2 separate regions of the Homo sapiens genome follow, and region 1 is linked to region 2. The links are contacts of gene promoters, found by promoter capture Hi-C in blood cells and fetal thymus (Javierre and others, 2016). All regions are on one chromosome and are shown on one strand. The core of a region is centred on a gene start or on the middle of the fragment in contact, and the rest is flanking DNA. Distances in the headings are between cores, read along the strand shown.

Region 1 (7,208 bases), core at 1-2,500, 1.3 Mb after region 2:
ACGAGCGTGCTTTAGATGTAGACTACCGAAATATTACACTCTGGCTGAAATACGCAGAAATGGAAATGAAGAATCGCCAAGTCAACCATGCTCGAAATATCTGGGACCGGGCCATAACAACGCTGCCTCGAGTTAATCAGTTCTGGTAAGTTTCTGATCTAACAAAACAGCCTTTTATAGACTAGCAAAGTTCCACATCTTCTGTATTTATTTTATTTACATGATGATAGTTTAATTTGATATCCTACTTTTTCTTCAGACATAAATGCTGTTATGTCCCATAGTCTATTAAGTCATAATCGTAATGTTCTATAGCTATGTAATCAAAACTAAAATTTTGATTGCAATCTTTTATTCATAAGCTTCTTGTTGAACTAGGCAACTTTTAAGAAAAAAAAATCTTTTTTTCCAATGGTTCATCCTTTTTCAGATTTACATACAAATGACAAAACATGTTTGATTTAACCTTTAAGAAAGGTAAAATCTTCAATCTTCTTCCCATTCAACAATGGAAGAACTAAACCACAGCAGATATTTTCGGGTGATTTTGTTACAGGTACAAGTACACGTACATGGAGGAAATGTTGGGAAACGTTGCCGGTGCCCGGCAGGTGTTTGAGCGCTGGATGGAGTGGCAGCCTGAGGAGCAAGCCTGGCACTCCTACATCAACTTTGAGCTGAGATACAAAGAGGTGGATCGGGCCCGCACCATTTATGAGCGATATATCCTTTGGACGAGATCTGTATGGTGCCATGATTGTCCTGGATGCTGCTGCTGCTCCTGTAGAGATGTCTCATGATCAGGACACACAGTCATTAATGTCAGGCTCAAAGTCAAGAATGCCAGTTTATCAGCTTCCCTATGTTTTGTAGGGAAAGAGATTGGTCAGAATGAAAATTTGTATTCTGGGTAACTAGTCTTTTCTAGTGAGAGTTTGGGTTTATTTTATTGTAATGCTAAAAGCTAATGTTTCCTTGTGGAAAATGATATTCCTGGGGGATTGTTTCCAGGAACTCAAGGGGATACCAAAATCGGTGATGCTTAAGTCCCTCATATAAAATGATGTAGTATTTGCATGTAACCTATGCATAGCCTCCCATATAATTCAAATAATCTCTAGATTACTTATACCTAATGCAATGTAAATGTTATATAAATAATTGTTATTCTGTATATTTTAAGGAATAATAAGCAAAAAAACGACATGTTCAATACAGAAGCACTTTTTTCTCACGAATACTTTATCTCAGGTTGGTTGAATCCACAGATATGGAACCCATGGCTGGAGGACTAACTGTACTAAGGTCCTGGCTGCCATTGCCAGTCCTGTTTTTCTAAGGTTTGTGTTGGTCATTACTACCTTACTGGAGTTCATCCAAGGTTTACTGTTTACTAGCTGTGTGGCTCCAGAGAGTCATTTAACTCCTTTGAGAGTTGGTGTCCTCTTCTTAAAAACAAGAATAAAAACACCTTTGTTGGGCTGTTGCGAAGATTAAATGATACACATGAAAGCACTTTTAGAAACTGAAGTACAGTCATTCCTCACTATTTGCAGATTCCATGTTTGCAAAATCACGTATTTGCTAAAATTTATTTGTAACCCCCAAAATCAGTAATTGTGGCACTTTCACAGTCATTTGTGGACATGCACAGAGCATGAAGTCCAACAAGGTGAGGCTTGCCTTCTGGTCTTAACCTCATATAACCATGCCTAGAGCTTGGAGACAGGAAGGGCCAGTGCCATGTAGTGCAAGGAGCTGTGGCTCTGGGGCCAGTCGGGGAGTTTGAATCCCTGTCAGTGGGGCAGCCTCAGTCCAGTCACTTAACATTTCTGAACCACTTTTCTTACAAAATAATGAAGATAGAATCTGCCAGGATGAGTTCTTTTTAGGATTTAAGATGATGATGAATGTGAGATTGTATATATACACGTTTCTCCTAGGAGCAGTGGTTCAGTACTCAATAATTAAGTGTTCGCATTGACTAAATAGAACATAACTACCAGAAATAATGAGAGTCAACTTTATTATGCAGTATTAAGATCTTTTTATTTTTTTACTCTTCTCTGTTGAGGTGACAATGTTAAGATCTTAATTATGTCTACTAATTTTAATATTATTAGTTTGACGAAAGCTTTTATAGCACTTGCTACGTGCCAGGCAGTATTCTAAGTACTTTACAGATATTGTTGTTTAATCCTCATAACATCCTTGCAGTGTAGGAACTTCTCTGTCCTACAGATGAGGGAGCTGAGGCATGAGAGATTAAGTAGCTTGACTGGGTTCTCACAGGTGCTGATGGAAATAGAATGTGAACCTAGTAGAGCAGCTTCAGAACTGATGCTCTTCTTTGCCATATTGGAATATATTACTACTTTGGAAATTAATGATTTATTCAAGGAAGATAGATTAAAATGACAATTCAAAACTTTCTGCTTTGACTCTAGTTAACAGTTTTCTTTTTATAGCATGTTTTTTTCTTAATTATTAGTTCAAGTATTCATATTTTAATATAATTGGTGCTATTTAATGACCAGACCATTATTGACCGCTTACGGTGCCATGTTCTTTTGGCTAGAAACTGTGCTAAGGGCTTTACATACATTTTCTCATTTAAAGCTGGCAGTAATCCAGTGAGGCTGGCATTATTTTTCCCTGTTTACAAATGAAACAGCTGAGACTTAGACGTCTAAGTTCAGTGACTTATCCAAGATCACATGGTTGGTAACCTGGGTTGAGATTTTTCTTTGCTTCCAACTCGAGTTTATACCCACCACTAAAATCTTAACTAAGCACTGGAGGAAAATAGAGATGAACAGGCGTGGCCCTGCTCTCACAGAAGCCACTGTTTAATTCTACACTTTTGTATGTGTTTTGTTCCCCTAGAGTTGTAGTTTGAATTTTTGGAGTTTCCAGGCTTTGGTATGGTTTTGGTGTTTACTTACTTACTATTTTTTTAAGCCATGCTGTTTTGCCTGGGATTTCCTTAATTCCCTTGCACTTGTCCTCGTGCACCCTGATGTTAAGAACTGGATCAAGTATGCCCGCTTTGAAGAAAAACATGCTTATTTTGCCCATGCACGGAAAGTGTATGAGAGAGCTGTGGAATTCTTTGGAGATGAACATATGGATGAGCACCTTTATGTTGCCTTTGCCAAGTTTGAAGAAAATCAGAAAGAGGTAAGTATACCTAACTTCATTATACTGTAAAACAGCTTAGCAAAGATTACATTTTGTGCATGGTGAGTTCATTTCCATTTTTTCTTACTGACATATCCCTGGAAAGATGTTTTCAAAATACAAAAACACAGCTTCTCACAGAGAACAGCATATATATGTGACTAAGCTACAGATGGGAGCTGATTATAGATTGTATTATAACTGTCTTAATTTTATTGTGCTTTGTTTGAAAATTAAGCCTTTTAGTCTGAATGCCCGTAAACTGAGAACTAGTCTTTTGGCATCCTAAGTAAAGGACTTAACCGATAATAAATATGGGAAACAAAAAGCTTAAAGCCCTAGAACAGAAAACATTTAGAATGGAAACAGAGATTGCCCTACAAATAAGAGAGTTCTTTTTTTCCCTTGTACCTATGAAAATAGCTCAAATATTGAGAAGATGAGGCAGAAGGATCACTTGAGGCCAGGAGTTTGAGACCAGCCTGGGCAACATAGTGAGACCCTGTCTCTAAAAAAAAAAATTGAGTGGGCATAGTGGTGCACACCTACAGTCCCAGCTACTTGGGAAGCTGAGGCAGGAGTATCACTTGAGCCTAGGAGTTTGAGACTACAATGAGCTATGTTCGTGCCATTGCACTCTAGCCTGGGTGACAGAGCAGGACCCCATTTCTTAAAAAAAAAGGGAGTTCAAATAATACAGAATTGAGATCCATCCAAATACAGGTTTGAGCATTCCCAGTCTGAAAATCCAAAACTCAAAATGTGAAACTTGTTGAGTGCTGACATGACACTCGAAGGAAATGTTCATTGGAACATTTCAGACTTCGGGTTTTTGGATTAGGGATGCTGAACCAGTAAGTATAATGCAAATATTCCCAAACTGGGGAAACATCCCAAATCCAAAACACTTCTGATACCAAATGCTTCAGACAAGAGATACTCAACCTATATAAGGTCTTGCACGGACCATGCTAGGGAGTTCAGATTCTGTTCGGGCCAGTGGGAAGCATTGAAAGGTTTTAAGCGGGACAGTGATTGGATATGATTTATATTTTAAGGAGAGCCTCTGGCTAATTCATGGAGAATGTATGAGGGTAGATGGCAAAAGTGGAACCAGGGGAGACCAGTGGGGAGACTTTTGAAGTGGGCCAGGTGAACAGTGGAGTTTGATGGCTGGGGGCTGGGGAGAAGCAAATGGCTGTGTGGAAGAGATTGAAATGGTAGGGCATGTTGCAAGAGTGAATATGGAGTATGAGGAAAAAAGAGGAATTGAGGATCACCTGAAGGTTTTGGCTTGAGCAAGTGACTGTAGGTTAGGCCTTGCCTACTAAAATTGGGAAGATGGGGAGAGTCCCAGTTTGAGTGGGGAGGAAACAGAAGCTCAGTTTTGGACCTGTTTGAGATGTGCAGTAGACATCCAGTTGGCAGTGTTAGGTAGACAGTATTAAATATGGAGCTCAAAGCAGAGTACCGGTCCATCCTGACAGAGATAACCTTCAACAAGAGGGAGAAAAGCATCTTACTCTGGATATTATGAGGCCTCAAAATCTAACTTATAAGTAATATTTTGTTATATTTACTCTCCTAGTTGTGACTGGCATGAGAATATTGTGTTATAGAAGGTAATCATCCTGTCTGCATTTAGTTTGAAAGGGTACGAGTGATTTACAAGTATGCCCTGGACAGAATTTCAAAACAAGATGCCCAAGAACTCTTTAAAAATTATACCATCTTTGAGAAGAAGTTTGGTGATAGGCGGGGTATTGAAGATATCATTGTGAGCAAACGGAGATTCCAGTACGAAGAAGAAGTGAAGGTGAGCACTGGTGTGGATGGTCAACTCTGCAGATAACCCAAGATGTGCTCATCAATACTAGCAACACTAAAATGAATAATAGCAAGTAGCACTACTAGTGATTACTCTCGTGATGATGTGCCCGTGATCCAATTGGCAGCTATTTCAGACAAGTAGGAATAAACAAGGCTGATAGAAAAGGCAAGCAAACAACACTTGGATTTGCTCTGCCACTTACATGTTGTAAGTCGTTTTGTTGATTGTTGACTGTATGTAGAACTGGAGCAAAAGAAATGTGGAATCCATTCGAGCTCATTGTTGGAAGAAGGTGGAAGAGTCAGAGATTGGTCCAAAAACCTGTTTTGCACATCACCTTTGAGCTTAACTGCCTGAACAAAAGATGTATGCTAGACAGGGTTCCATCGGCATCTCTTTTTCTGTAATGTACTATTTTGATTTCAATTCAAAGAGAGTGTCATTTTCCTTCAGTATTCTGTTGTGTATTTAAAAATACTCTTCCTTAGTCAAGTTAATTAAGATACCTCCAAGCAAAGGACTAAGTCTGTTATTAAATGTGGTGGTAGGTTAGCAAGATATGTTAAAGATGAATTGCTATTAATTGGAAAGGCAAGTTTAACAATTGTGAGCATGATACGATTCTGTTGTTACAGACATAATGATACATAGTCACATATTTAAGCAAATGCATTGGCAAGAATAGGCATCTAATTATTGACTGTCGTGAGAGTGATGGCTATAGATGAAGGAGTCCTTGCTGTGGGACACCTGGCCAGTAATCTATCCTCTGTATTCCTGTTTCTTTTCTATTTATGCAGTCTCAGGGATGGTGTTTTTAAAATGAAAGAACATGTAACATTTAGAAGAAAAGGTGCTAAAATATAGAAAGTCAGCCTGATGCCTTTTTTCAGCTTGCTTAACCTGGCAAGTGCAGCTCTTGGTTTTGTTTTTTATTTATTAAACTGGTTGTCTTTCTAGGCGAATCCACACAATTATGATGCATGGTTTGATTACTTGCGCTTGGTAGAAAGTGACGCAGAAGCTGAAGCCGTGAGAGAAGTCTATGAAAGGGCCATTGCCAATGTCCCACCCATTCAGGAGAAGAGGCACTGGAAGCGCTACATTTATCTTTGGATCAACTATGCACTCTATGAAGAATTGGAGGCAAAGGTGAAAAAACAGAATTATGTGTCAGCTGATAATGGTTTCCTGTCTTCTGTATTCACAGCTCACCTATTGTGGATGTTTGTAATTCTTGAAAGAAGGAAATTTAGTTTTAAATTTTTATAGGCTTCTGTTCATCCATACAGTTATATATTCGCTCTGCAACATTTTAAACCCTCTGTGCTTGTTGTGGCCACACGTGAGGGGCTTTTTTAACTTTGGTTTGATTTTTACTTGAGGCACAACAAGATATCACTTGGAGCTTGAAAGAGAACAGTGAACCAGCCCTTAATTTAGTGAAATATAGTTTCCTGGATTTGCTCATTAATAGGAGTAATTCTGGCTAGATTATGCATTTTTGCTTTTAGCAAAAATCAAGTGGCATTTTCAGAAATCATTTGTATTAACCTTCTGGGTTTGATCTGAGACTATGAAACATCTTTGTTTCTTTCTGCCATCAGGCAAAACGGCTTTCTACAAAGAAGGGCTTAGAAGTTTGGTGGCTATCTTGTTGGTGATTCTTAAACTGAAGTTTCATGGCCGTTCATACTTTAGATCATAAATCAGGGTTTGCAAGTAACAACTTGTGAAACATGCTGTTTTGGGGGTGTACATTTTTACCAATATCAGTAAAATTAGTAACTAGTAAAATGAGTGTTAGCAGCAGACTTCAATATTTTGTGAAAATTTCTTATCCTAATACAGGATCCTGAGAGGACAAGACAGGTGTATCAAGCCTCTTTGGAACTAATTCCTCACAAAAAGGTATGTTTGCTCTAAAGTGTTCCATTTCAAACAGGTCAGAATCCTCTTCTGTTACTTGTGAAGTAATTCAGTGAAATAATATTGATTGATAAAATGCTTCCCTGTCCCACCATGGACAACATAAATAAGACTGAGATATGCTCCTTGCCTCTGAAAACAGCTCACAGACTAGGTTGGAGGACAACCTGCATTGACAAACAAATAATATAAATTCAGAGAAGGCTAGGTAATGTGAATAGTCTGAGTGGAAGGAGAAAGACATCCATGCAGAGAGCACACAACGTGT
Region 2 (6,734 bases), core at 1-2,500:
GTTAAAGGTGGAGAAATGGGATGAGAAGGGGTAGAGCAAGAACTGTTGCTTTTTGTTTAACCCACGTGCAAGTAAAGTTCAATAAAGTTCGATTAAAATTTTACAAAGGAAACAAGTATTCAATTTAGCAGTTGCTTTTTGAAAAAAACAAGAAATAGTGGGAATGTCACTAAGACAAGGCTTTTGGTTCCTCCTTGGATAGAAGCCAAGAAAGTTAAAAAAAAAAAAAAAAGCAGAAATAAGTTCACAGTGACAGGCAAGCACTGCCTTCAAAAACTAAGGAGTGAGGTACGCGTGATGTGCCTCTGAACGTTTCCAATCCAGAAATTCTAATTAAGAGCACAAAATCGAATCCGCATGGAATGACGAAAACAATAAAAACAAAACTCAATAATGGCCAAAAATCTACTTACGTATTAACTAACAACAAAAATTGTACTGCTCAAGTACATCCAGTAATCTTGAAATTTTCAACAAGCACCCACCCCGTTCAGTAGTCAGGGCACACAGAGAAGGGTAACTTCTCAGAATTCTATAGCGCTCATCCTGGACCTGACATACTGCTTTCAGCGTCCAATCTAACCAGAACAACAAATGGTCCTGAACACTAGGAGAAAACCTTTCCGGCACAATTGGTAAACAACGAAAAGGTCGCCGCCAGGGATTCCTTTACAAGGTTGTCAAAAAGCTGGCCTCCGAATCCGTGCATCCATAACCCGCTAGCTCAGCTGACCTGGCATGCATTGCTCAACAACAGCCTCTGAACCTCTTCCGAGACCCAAAATGCGCGGTCTGGAGAGGAAACAAAGCAGTGGGCGGGGCCTTCCGGTGCCGGGAAAAAGCGAGTAGGGGAGGAGCGACCCTCCTGCGAGTTCGGAACCCTATAGGCCCTTGCCCCGCCGAGGGTCCTGAATTCCTCGCCCCCGGGGTGCTGAATCCCACAGCCCGCGTCCCATCGCGTGTGGGGCTGCGACTGCTCGCGAGGCTGGCAGCAGGGCGCGAGCTCCGGCAAGGCTCCCCGGGGGCAGGCGGCGGAGCCCATGGGCCGCGGCCTAGACGTGCCGGGGGCCCGGGCTCGAGTGTGGCGGCCGCCTGGCGCCTCCTCACCTTCTCTTCCACGCAGTTGACTATGATGGACGGGTACTTGCGGCTGAGCCAGCGGAAGAACGCCGGGACTCCCATAGCGGCACACGGCTGGAGGCGGCGGCCGACCGGCTGACGAGCGTAACCAAAGAGACGGGAGCAGCGGCAGAGGGCACCAGCACTTCCTCCCACGTGCGCGCTGGAGAACGGAAGTGACGTCACGGCGCCGCCGCCGGGGAAGCTGGGAAGGAGGCTTCGCTGGATGAGGGAGCGGCGGAAAAGGGCCTTGCCGGGCTGTTTGTGGGAGGCGGAGTCCGGCGGCGGACCGGGTGGCGAAGGCTGCAGCTCGCCCTCGGTGGTCCCAGCCCCGGAGCGCGAGGCCGAGCGCGTCTGAGTTGCGGGGGCTCACGGGCGACTGCTCTGCCGGGGCTCCGCCGGGATCTCCCAGCCCCAGCCCTCCGGCTCCCTGGGCACAGAATCGCTGCGCTCTGCATGCCCGGGAGGAGGTCTCCCTTGCCCGTTTGGTCACCTCTTGTTTGGAAGAAAATGTCTTTTTTTGCCTCTATGCTCACCCGTCTCAATCTAGGGTAGAATCGAAGCATCCAAACTTACTCGTTACTTCCATTTCCTGGTTTCTCCTAGTTTTGTGCTGCAGTACGTACCTGGACTATCAAAAGGAGCATTTTAAAGCATTTTACAGTAATAATGGCTGCTTTGCACCAATAATTTGATTGTTATGCAAATAAATAATTATGATAGTTACCGAATGGAATCTAGCCGGTATTTAGCATCCAATACAATCTTCCAGCTACAATTACGGGTATAAAATAGTTGCTAATATGATTTTCCAGCATTTACTGAGCCTTTACAGTGTACCAAGACATTGACTAAGGGATTGTCCTATGTAATCTTCACTTGAACCTTGTGAGGGTACTGTTAGCACCCTCGTGTAAATGATAAGAAAGCCAAGTTACAGAGGAGTTAAGTCACTTATGCACATAGCTTCTGTTTCAGTTCAAGCAAAGGTCATTTTTAATCCATCCTTGTTCTAACACGATACTTTTATCTTTTGTTTTCTGGTGGTCCCAAACGAATTTTTTCCATATGAAAGGAGAGGTCTGGAAGAGGAGGTATATTTGTCCGTTTGCTCAAGCCTGGAAGTCTCCCTGAATCCCCTCTTGGTTTGACACACATCACACACGATGCTAAATGCTCACCTCATGAGGCCTCTGTGAAAGTATTTCGCCGAGTTACCTCACAGGCAGTATTTATTGCCCCCTCCTCTGTGGTCTGATGACTACTTTGTTTAAACTACTAGTGTGGAAATTAGAGAAATAGTCATCCCGTGTTTTACTTAAGGATAGCCAAAACTATTCCAAAGTATTATGTCTATGGTGAAATTCCTCCTTTTACCTGGAAGCAGCCCCTCTGGTTTCCCTGGGAGGTGCTGTTATAGGAACATGTACACCATAGGCAGTTCAGGGATAGACAGCTGGCCAAGTTGAGCCATTTAGAATCCTTAACCAGCATTTTGGCGGGTTGGGAGGGTTTATTGTTTTGTTTTTGTTTTTTCAGACGGAGTCTCAGTCATCCAGGCTGGAGTGCAGTGGCAAGATCCAGGCTCACTGCAACCTCCACCTCCCGGGTTCAAGCGATTCTCCTGCCTCAGCCTCCCGAGTAGCTGGGATTAGAGGCGCCTGCCATGACACCCCGCTGATTTTTGTGTTTTTAGTTGAGACAGGGTTTCACCATGTTGGCCAGGCTGGTCTCGAACTCCTAACCTCAGGTGATCTGCCCACCTCGGCCTTCCAGAGTGCTGGGATTACAGGTGTGAGCCACTGCACCCAGCCTTACCAGCATTTTTGAGCTTTGAACCATAAGAAATTTAAGACTGCATCTTTCCAGTGCGTGAACGCTAAAAGATAAGAATTGGGACTTGTTGCCAGTAGGCAATGAGAGAAGCAGGGTTAATTCCCTGGTTCCAGTTAAATCCCTCTCTTCCTGCAGTTTGATTAAGTCTGTCCTTTGATTCTGTGAGCCAAATTTTTTTTTTTTTTTTTTTTTAAGACAGAGTCTCACTCTGTTGCCAGGCTGGAGTGCAGTGGCACCATCTCGGTTCACTGCAACCTCCACCTCCCAGGTTCAAGCGATTCTCCTGCCTCAGCCTCCCAAGTAGCCGGGACTACCAATGTGCGCCACCACGCCCGGCTAATTTTTGTATTTTTAGTAGAGATGGGGTTTTACCATGTTGGCCAGGATGGTCTCAATCTCTTGACCTTGTGATCCGCCCGCCTTGGCCTCCCAAAGTGCTGGGATTCCAGGTGTGAGCCACCACTCCCAGCCAAAAGTTTCCTTTTGCCCTAAGCTGGCTTGGGCTAAATTCTTATCCCTTACAAAGGAAAGAGTCCAGTAACAAAATTTGGGGAGTGCAAGCTAATTCACCTGGGTGGTGAAATTGGTTTGCATAGAAGTACTAAAATTGGAGTTTTGGCACTCAGAGAAGGAGTGGGTAAAAGAGAGAAGAAACTTGAAAGGCGGCAGGAGGATATGGACTAAGTATTGTGACACTTTCCCTGGCCCAATGTGTCCAGTAAAGCCTGTCAGACTCAGGCTTGGTATGGGTTTTTCTTGTAGAAATCAAATAAAAAGTCTCCAGTTGGGGTCACTGTGGTTTGGAACCACCACGGGGTGGGCAACATAGCAGACCTCTAGAAGCAGAAGAGGTGAGAATTTATTAGTGTTGGAAATTAGCAGGGAGGCCAGGTGTGGTGGTTCACATCTGTAATCCTAGCAAATGGGGAGACTAAGACAGGAGGATCACTTGAGCCCAAGAGTTTAAGGCTGCAGTGAGCTATGATTGCACCACTGTGCTACAGCCTGGGTGACAGAGCGAGAAGCTATCTAAAAAAAAAAAAAAAAAAAAAAAGAAAATAAATTAGCAGAAATACTGAACCAGACTTTGGACTTATACAGGCAGAGAACCCAGAGGTTTTGAAACATTTTTGCCCAGATCTCAAAGGGAGAGAGGAAGGCCACAGCTAGTATCTGGATTACATTAATGTGAAAAACAATATGAAAAATATATAATATGTGGAAACTAGGATGTTTTTAAATATTCATCAATTCATTTTTAAGCCCCATTAACATTGTAATTATCATAGAAAAAAATTCTCAGTTTTTTTTTGCCTACTATTGGTCCTTCTACCAAGTGATTCCTTTCCTTCTTTATCCTTACAAAATTCATTGTGAATAACCTGATGTATTTAAAACAGTAATTGTGGCCATTTTGGGTTGAGATAAACATTTTTAATCAGTAGAGTAAAGCAGATTGCCCTCCATAATGTGAGTGGACCTCATTTCATCAGTTGAAGGCCTGAATAGAACAAAAAGTCTGGCCCCCAAGCAAGAGGGAATTCTCTAGCCAACTGCCTTGAGATGTAATCTGCCTCCTGAGTCCTGAATCTGCTGGCCTACACTGCAGATTTGGATTAGCCAGTCTGTATAGTTACGTGAGCCAAATCCTTATAATAAATGTCTTTGTATATGCCCACATGTTGATTCCATGTCTCTAGAGAACGCTGACAGCTACAGATTCTGGTACTAGAAGTGGTTCAAGCGGAACGGAATCTTAGGGATGCATTTTTGTAATTGGTTCTGAGGTTTCTGGAAGTGGTTCTCTAGTCTGATTAGATTAAAAACAGGAATGACTTTCCAGTAGTAAATAAAACACTTGATAGTCTATGGCATGATGAAGTAGTAGAATTACACAAAATATTACCAAAACTAAAAAGAAGCAGGATCTGGGTGACCATGCGTATGATACTTTATAACATATTTGCCAAAATAACAAGTATAATGAGATTGGTTGCCCCTAATGTTGCTGGACAAAGTGGGAAAAGAAAAGGATGAGCTCAGGGATTCAAATTCCCAGCTCAAGTATAACATAAGTGACCTGAAACTTTCTATTTCTGCCCTGAAAGAGACCCTTATCTCCTATAGCTGCAGAGCCAAGATTGTTAAAAATCAACTCCGAATCACATCCTGTAAGTGGCTGAATTAAAGTGCAGATTGAATTTTTGACTTTGCAGGTTGTCTACTTCTAAAGTGAGGGCATTGATTGGGAACGAATTGGATCCTGAAAGTTGGAATGGGGGCATATGGAAAGACCTTGATGGCACTGGGGACATTGAATTCATAAGTTCCAATGAGTCATCTTTGCCCGTAGAAGCATTTTCTCCACCCCAGTAGATATATCCTCTCCACCCCCACCTGAGGGAACTAACCTTTCATTGCTTAAGGAATCTATCATGACCTCACCTGATACAGTTGTCTCGCAAGACAATGCTGATTCTCCTCAGGACACACCCCCATTACCCCTCTTGGCTTCTAGAACTTTAACTAGACTCAAGTCCTAGCAGTCCCAAAAGGTGAGGCATGAAATGTGATCCATGAGGCATACTACACTCCAAAAGAACTACTTGAGTTTTCTTATTTAGTCAGAAATTCAGGGAATATGTGTGAGAATGGAAATTAAAGGTGTGGGATAAAGATGGAAGAAACATAAAATTGAATCAGGCTGAATATATTGATAGGGGCCGATTGAGCAAGATTTCTGCATTTAATGTTGCAACTCAGGGAGTTAGTGCTATAACTGATGGGTTGGTTGACTGAAACATGGACCAAAAGGTAGACCACAGTGAGTGAGTGAGAAATGCCAGGCCTACTTGGGTTTAATGTAGAGAAGAGAAAGCTCAGGGCTGGTTTACAGGTGGTTCTGCATGATGTGCAGGCACCACCTGAAAGTGGACACTGCAGCACTACAGCCCCTGAGACTGACCTTCCCTGAGCAAGAATGGATTCTGCCAGCAGATGCACCTCTTCCCTGGGTCTCCAGCCTGCTGGCCTACCCCATCAGATTTTGGACTCATCAAGCCCCCACAATCGTGTGAGCCAATTTCTTCAAATAAAACCTTCTCACATCCTATTGGTCCTGTTTTTCAGGAGAATTCTGACTAATGCATTTTCAAGATGCTTCACCTCTCTAAGCTTCAGTTTCTTCATCTGTAAAATGAGGATCATAGACTTCATAGGTTTTCTGTGAAAATTCAGTGATACCATGCCCAGTGCACAGGCCAAAACTTGCTAAGAACCAGGAAGTGATCACCATTGTATGGCTATCTGTTGTGCTCCACACTGTTTGCTTTGAAGAAGCCTCACAATTTTATTAGCATGTTCCACTTATTTTGGACAATTTAATAATCTAACAGGCCTCATTTTGCCACTCCCCAGCTAGTATTAACTTTCTTTTCTTCCTTCTTTCCTTCCTTCCTTCCTTCCTCTCTCTCTCTTTCTCTTTCTCTCTCTGTTTCTTTCTTTATTTCCTTCTTTCTTTCTTTTTCTTTCTCTCGTGCGTTCATTCTTTTTTCTTTTTCAGACAGGATCTTTCTCTGTAACCCAGGTGGAAGTGTAGTGGCGCAATGCAACCTCCATCTCCCAGACTCAAGCAATCCTCCCACCTCAGCCTCTCAAGTAGCTTGGACTACAGGCATGCCACCACACTGTTACGGTGTTAACTTTCTCATATTGACTCTGTCTTCATTTTCCCTCACTTATATTTCCTGCTCATTCCCACTTTGCTGAGACTCATAGTC

The links. The method cuts DNA at HindIII sites, captures the fragments that hold promoters and counts their contacts. A CHiCAGO score of 5 or more calls a contact.
Region 1: a fragment that was not itself captured here is called in contact with the fragment with the promoter of XRN2 in region 2 in 4 of 17 cell types (fetal thymus, naive CD8 T cells, non-activated CD4 T cells and 1 more); the score reaches 11.1 in fetal thymus.

What each region holds. Positions count from the first base shown.
Region 1 is chr20:20,041,280-20,048,487 of GRCh38, reverse strand. CRNKL1 (crooked neck pre-mRNA splicing factor 1) reads left to right here. Exons shown (of 14, transcript NM_001278628.2): 4 at 1-145; 5 at 557-723; 6 at 3,002-3,180; 7 at 4,826-4,996; 8 at 5,972-6,163; 9 at 6,863-6,922. Among named protein-coding and RNA genes, the nearest start is that of CRNKL1, 7.6 kb to the left of the region's middle. The HindIII fragment of the contact is 1,772 bases long and covers 365-2,136 here.
Region 2 is chr20:21,297,847-21,304,580 of GRCh38, reverse strand. It overlaps XRN2 (5'-3' exoribonuclease 2), which reads right to left and starts at 1,250. Exons shown (of 30, transcript NM_012255.5): 1 at 1,108-1,250. The coding sequence starts at 1,182. RefSeq lists an enhancer at 653-702 and a silencer at 1,423-1,552. The HindIII fragment of the contact is 6,284 bases long and covers 1-6,131 here.